2 separate regions of the Homo sapiens genome follow, and region 1 is linked to region 2. The links are contacts of gene promoters, found by promoter capture Hi-C in blood cells and fetal thymus (Javierre and others, 2016). All regions are on one chromosome and are shown on one strand. The core of a region is centred on a gene start or on the middle of the fragment in contact, and the rest is flanking DNA. Distances in the headings are between cores, read along the strand shown.

Evidence for each region. The method cuts DNA at HindIII sites, captures the fragments that hold promoters and counts their contacts. A CHiCAGO score of 5 or more calls a contact.
Region 1: a fragment that was not itself captured here is called in contact with the fragment with the promoter of ABCC1 in region 2 in 1 of 17 cell types (total CD4 T cells); the score reaches 5.2 in total CD4 T cells.

Annotation. Positions count from the first base shown.
Region 1 is chr16:15,633,091-15,635,998 of GRCh38, reverse strand. MARF1 (meiosis regulator and mRNA stability factor 1) reads left to right here. Exons shown (of 27, transcript NM_014647.4): 3 at 1-343; 4 at 1,068-1,242; 5 at 2,156-2,382. LOC124903649 (a long non-coding RNA gene) reads right to left here and starts at 1,989. Exons shown (of 2, transcript XR_007065003.1): 1 at 1,740-1,989; 2 at 201-493. The HindIII fragment of the contact is 1,062 bases long and covers 738-1,799 here.
Region 2 is chr16:15,948,366-15,951,092 of GRCh38, reverse strand. ABCC1 (ATP binding cassette subfamily C member 1 (ABCC1 blood group)) reads right to left here and starts at 1,477. Exons shown (of 31, transcript NM_004996.4): 1 at 1,294-1,477. The coding sequence starts at 1,341. LOC107984869 (a long non-coding RNA gene) reads left to right here and starts at 1,922. Exons shown (of 3, transcript XR_001752339.2): 1 at 1,922-2,302. The HindIII fragment of the contact is 23,517 bases long and covers 1-2,727 here.

The DNA of each region.
Region 1 (2,908 bases), core at 19-2,518, 310 kb after region 2:
CTCAGCTAGGAACAATTTGGCAGGCATTGCAAGTGACTTTCCCAGCATGTGTCTAGAGAGTAACCTGTCTTCCTGCAAACACCTGCCCTGTTGTGGAAAACTCCACTTCCAGTCATGTCATGGTAATGTGCACAAGCTGCATCAGTTTCCGAGTCTGCAGGGCTGCACCTCCGCTGGCTATTTCCCCTGTTCTGATTTCACAAGCGGGGCTCCAGGGCATTTGGAAGAGCACATTTCACAGTCGGAGCTAACGCCTCACTTGTGCACCAACTCTTTGCACCTTAATGTGGTACCTCCGGTTTGTTTAAAGGGCTCACTTTACTGCGAAGACTGTCTAAACAAGGTTCGTATCTTTTTATTTCTTAAGTTGGGTGCAGCTGAGGATTGAGGAATGACTTTTGAAGTGGATTTATCTTGAAAAGTATTATACATGGGGTTGAAGATTCTCCCATGGTATAGGGGAATCTCCCCATCAGCATAATTTTTGCTGGTTCTGAAAGAAACAAAGGGTAAGATGGGAGATCATTCAAAAAAGTAGAGAGTCATTATTTTTGTAGTTTATACTTTTAGAGCCTCTTGTTGCAAACAAGAGGTTGGCAAAGCCTTCGTGTTCTATGTTTAAAGGCTAAAGCACGATGGATTTTTTATAACTTACATTCAGCTTACACATGGGCCCATTCATGTAAGGTAGATAACTGCATGTTGTCTTTTTGCAATAATGTGGGAAACCTGAAGCTTGGCCTCAGTCACATTGGTGTTCAAGTGAGACTTTGCTACCCTTTATGTAAAATATGTGTGAGGTCTTCGTTGCAGCAGACTCATGCCCCAGAATGTAAAGATCTGACCACGTGAATATCTTTCTTGATCATGTCAAGTCACTTCTGGAAATGAATTTATGAACTGATAGCTAATGGTTCTTGGAAAGATTATTTGAAAGTCCTTTTTATTAGAGGCTAGCAAGTGGAAAGGTAAAACACTTAGAGTGTATTTTCAGTTGTTGTATATAACTCCAGCTTCTGAAATGATGTATCTGACACCTCCTCCTTTTTAAAAAAAATTTAAAACAGCCAGCAAGAAATAGCATAATCGATGCGGCTAAAGTCTGGCCAAATATACCACCTCCAAATACTCAACCTGCACCTCTTGCTGTCCCTCTGTGTAATGGCTGTGGAACCAAAGGAACAGGGAAGGAGACCACGTTGTTATTGGCGACCAGTCTAGGCAAAGCTGCTTCAAAATTTGGTAAATGACAGTATGGCATAAAATGTGCATATTTAAATAGCTTTCAATATCTCATACTAACATTGCATTTAATCACCTTTGAAGGATTCCTTATGGTTCTAAAGCTACTGTGTATGTGAGTCTCCAATTCCATATCTTGGTAGAAATCTTTTTATTATTATGGACCAGGAAGTCATTTGCCCTTTATGTTGGGCCGAGGCTATACACAGAAGCTGTGTATAGAAAAATTGGTAGTATATCAGGAGAAATAAAAGTGCTGGAAAAGACTTGGTGTCACCTTAGGTTGGAAATCACACTTGTTGATGGTATACTCCCTAGAAGTGCTTAGAACAATTTACTAATGGCTGATTAAAAACAGTATTTGAAAACCAAAGAGTTCTCAGTTAAAATAATTTCCCTAAAAAGTAGTTAATGCGACGTTTTGAAAACATTTTTAAAATATTAAATCAGATGTTAATGCAGCGTTAACTCAAAATCAACGACAGTAACAGCTTCACCCTTTGTCAGCTCCTCAGTGTTGGTTACTACCAAGTAGGTAGATAAGTGTGGGCTAAGCTTGAAAGTCGGGTCCTGGAGCTGCAGTATCCGGTCAGTTAGTGTGCTTGTGTTCAGAGAAGCATCACTGCTTAATGTCAGAGTGGCTCATGCTTGGAGGTGGATTTATTGTGGGCTTAAAGTTACTTGACTTTTAGATTTGTCTTCTCCTGAAAAACAGAAATAATCTCTTAGAGTGATACTTTTTGACAGCTTGATTGCTTATTAGGTCAACCAGTGAGGTTGGTAGCCTTAAAACTTGGCATTCATTAATAATTTAGTTTTTCTACCACTGAGAATGATAGGTAGTTTATTATCTTATTGTAACTTGCCATTTATTTTCCACTACAAGTAATTGAAAATGTTAACATTTCTTAAGGGTCACCAGAAGTTGCAGTAGCTGGACAGGTGCTAGAAAACTTACCCCCCATTGGAGTTTTTTGGGATATTGAAAACTGCTCCGTTCCCTCTGGCCGGTCAGCAACTGCTGTTGTGCAAAGAATCCGTGAGAAGTTTTTTAAAGGCCACAGAGAAGCAGAATTCATCTGTGTATGTGACATCAGTAAAGAAAACAAGGAAGTTATTCAAGAGCTGAATAATTGCCAGGTAAAAAAAAAAAATTTAATAATTTTAATCTACAGTAGAGGAATAAGCAGATATTTGTTTGTTTGTTTGTTTTGAGACAGAGTCTAAGTGTCACCCAGGCTGGAGTGCAGTGACGCATTCATGGCTCCCTGCAGCCTCGAACCCTGGGACCCCAGTGATCCTCCCACCTCAGCCTCCCAACTAGCCAGGATCACAGATGCACGCCATCATGCTCGGCTCATTTTTTATTTTTTGTAGAGACGAGGTCTCCCTATGTTCCAACCAGAAACAGAAACTAAGAACCCATGACTGTATTCTGTCCCTTGGACACCCCTGGATGGCTTTCAGGATCCAGGGTTAGGTGGTGGAGGCTTGTCTCAAACTCCTGGGATCAAGCAGTCCTCTTGCCTTGGCCTCTAAAAGTGCTGTACGTGTGTGTGTGTGTGTGTGTGTGTGTGTGTGGTGTTTTTTTTTTTTTTAGAATTCTGATTGAAAATTTGTTTAATGATATTGCATTTGTGCCAAGTTTTCAAATAAAATAAATTAG
Region 2 (2,727 bases), core at 228-2,727:
TCCATCTGCAAAGAGGCTCCAATCACCCCCAGACCCTCAAGGCAAAGTCTGTGTTCTATTTCCACCCCTGGGGTTACTCTCCAACCCCACTGGCTTAAAATGGGAGATATATCAAAGTGTGGTAGGTTATTAAACACAATGATACCCTACTAAAAAAAACAAACAAACAAAACCAAACCCTCCAATGGGGCCCTGGAGGATGACTTTTCAACACTCCAAATGCAACCCTCGAGGAAAGGCCGGCAAAACAGGACAAGAAAGTATTTTTGGAAGCTGATCACCAGCTCCTAAGAACCAAGGCTGTTTCTCCTGATTCCTAAACAAAAGAGGAGAGAGAAACAGTCGTGTCCAGATTTGCCTACTGCGTTCACCAACAATCAAGACAGCACGAGACAGAAGTGCCTGCCTTCCTGGAACAAAGAGGCAAATCGCATTACGGAGAAGCTGAAGCCCAAAAGACTGGGGCTTAAACCACAGCAAGTGGACTCCAGACACCCAGTCAGGCTCCGCAGGCCACGTTACAGAAGAAAACTTGCCGGGGTTAAATCTAAGGGGCATCCCCAGAGAGGAGCTCCACGTGTTGCAGGGAAGGGAGGGCAGGACCACAGCTACCAGGGTCCTGGGCGTCCTCAGCTGCACCCCAAGTCTGCCCCGAGCCGAGGGTCAGGTAGGGCACATCAAGGGTGGACATCCCCCTTCTTCCCTGGTTCCCCCAAACTTCCCCCGCAGTATCTAAGTAGAAAGAACAAAAAAAACAAAGCTAGGTAACCACAGAAGAGTAATGTGGCTTGTACGACAACTTTGGGGAGACAATGAAAGTCCCTTTCTACAATCTAAGCCCCTCCCCAGCTCACCCCGTTGGTCACGGAGTATTTTTCGTGAAAAGGGGGGACCCTAACCACAAAAAAGATGGGAAAACAGAAGCAGAGAGACACCCCTCTTCCCGCCCCCCATCTCTAGCGTCCCCTTCCCTGGAAGGTTGTTTTTACAGACGGGAACCCCAAAACAGGAAGGCCTCCTCACGGCGGCTCTGACCCGACCCGACCCTCCAAAACCCCAGGGCTGGGCACGCGGCCCCCCACGCTCTGCTCCGCAGGAACTGAGTCACCCAAGTTTCCCCCATGCCTTGCACCCCCGAAAGGGGCTGGGCCGCGGGCGACGTGAGGGTCCCGGGCCCCCGAGGCCGGCAGCAGAGCGGGGAGCGGGGTGCCCCGGGCGGCTGCGGGCCCGGTGCTTTCCCTCCCCGCCGGCCTCCCTCCGTCCCGCCGGCCTCACGCGGCCCCCGGCACGTACCCAGAGCGGGTCGGAGCCATCGGCGCTGCAGAAGCCCCGGAGCGCCATGCCGGTGGCGCGGGCGGCGGCGGGCACCGGGCGGCGGGTGATCGGGCCCGGTTGCTGGCGCGGGCGGCGGCGGGCACCGGGCGGCGGGTGATCGGGCCCGGCTGCTGGCGCTAGCGCTGGCGGCGGCGGCGGCGGCGGCGCAGGGAGCCGGGGCCGGGGCCGCAACGCCGCCTGGTTGGCCCGCGCGTCACGGGGATGCGGCGGCCCCGCCCCACCCCGCCCCGCCCCGGCGCCCGCTCACCTCGCGCGTCTCGGCGTGGGCAGCCGGACCAGCCACCTCTCGGCGCCCCGGGCCTGGACCCCGCGCCACCCCCACCCCAGATCCTCCAAGGCTTAGGCCCACCCGCTCGCGGACGGGCCTGGGGAGCGTTGGCTCGCCTTCCGGAAGCGCCTGGGATCTTTGGGGCCACACACCCTGCGACCACTTTTCAAATGCTGTTTAAGGACAGTATCCGTCACCAGGGGAAAATAACGTGAACGGAGCCCCCTACCTGCCTGGAGTGTACCGGGCGCCTTAACTGTGCCCTCATTTCATCCTGTAAAGTCTCCACGTTCATGAAGGAAGAAACCCAGGTGCAGAGAGGTTGAGTGATTCCCTCTGCCCAGGGTCACCTGGCTAATCACTTGCAGGGCTGGGATTTGAACCCGGTCCGCTGACTCCAAAGCTGAGTCACACAGAAGGAGGTGAATACTGTTATTCACCTACCTTTTACAGATGGGGAAACTGAGGTTCAGAAAGGCGAAGTGACTTGCCCGAGGTCACACAGTTAATAAGGAGTGAAAGTGGAAGTGAGATTCAAACCCGTGAGCAGCCTGATTCCGGAGCACTGATGACCCAGACGGCGCCAGTCTCCATCACTAACAGCTGTTGACCTCACCTGTGTGCAGAGCGCCTTTGCTTCTTCTCAACCTCTTTAAGCATCACTTAGAAATAACCAGGTTATTGATCCTCACCTCAGAGGTAAGGAAACTGAAGCCTGGAGACATGATAATCGTAGGCCAGGCATGGTGGCTCGTGCTTGTAATCAAGCACTTTGGGAAGCCGAGGCGGGCCGATCACATAAGGTCAGGAGTTCAAGACCAGCCTAGCCAACATAGCAAAACCCTGTCTCTACTAAAAACACAAAAATTAGCCGGGCATGGTGGCGGGCACCTGTAGTCCCAGCTACTTGAGAAGCTGAAACAGGAGAATCACTTGAACCTGGGAGGCGGAGGTTGAAATGAGCTTAGATCACACCACTGCACTCCAGCCTGGGCAACAGAGCAAGACTCTGTCTCAAAAAATAATAATAAAAAAAATTAATATGCATTCACAGTGACAAGGCTTCCTAAGGCTGTGTTCTTAGCAATTTACACAAATTAACTTGTGCAATCCTCACAACCCCA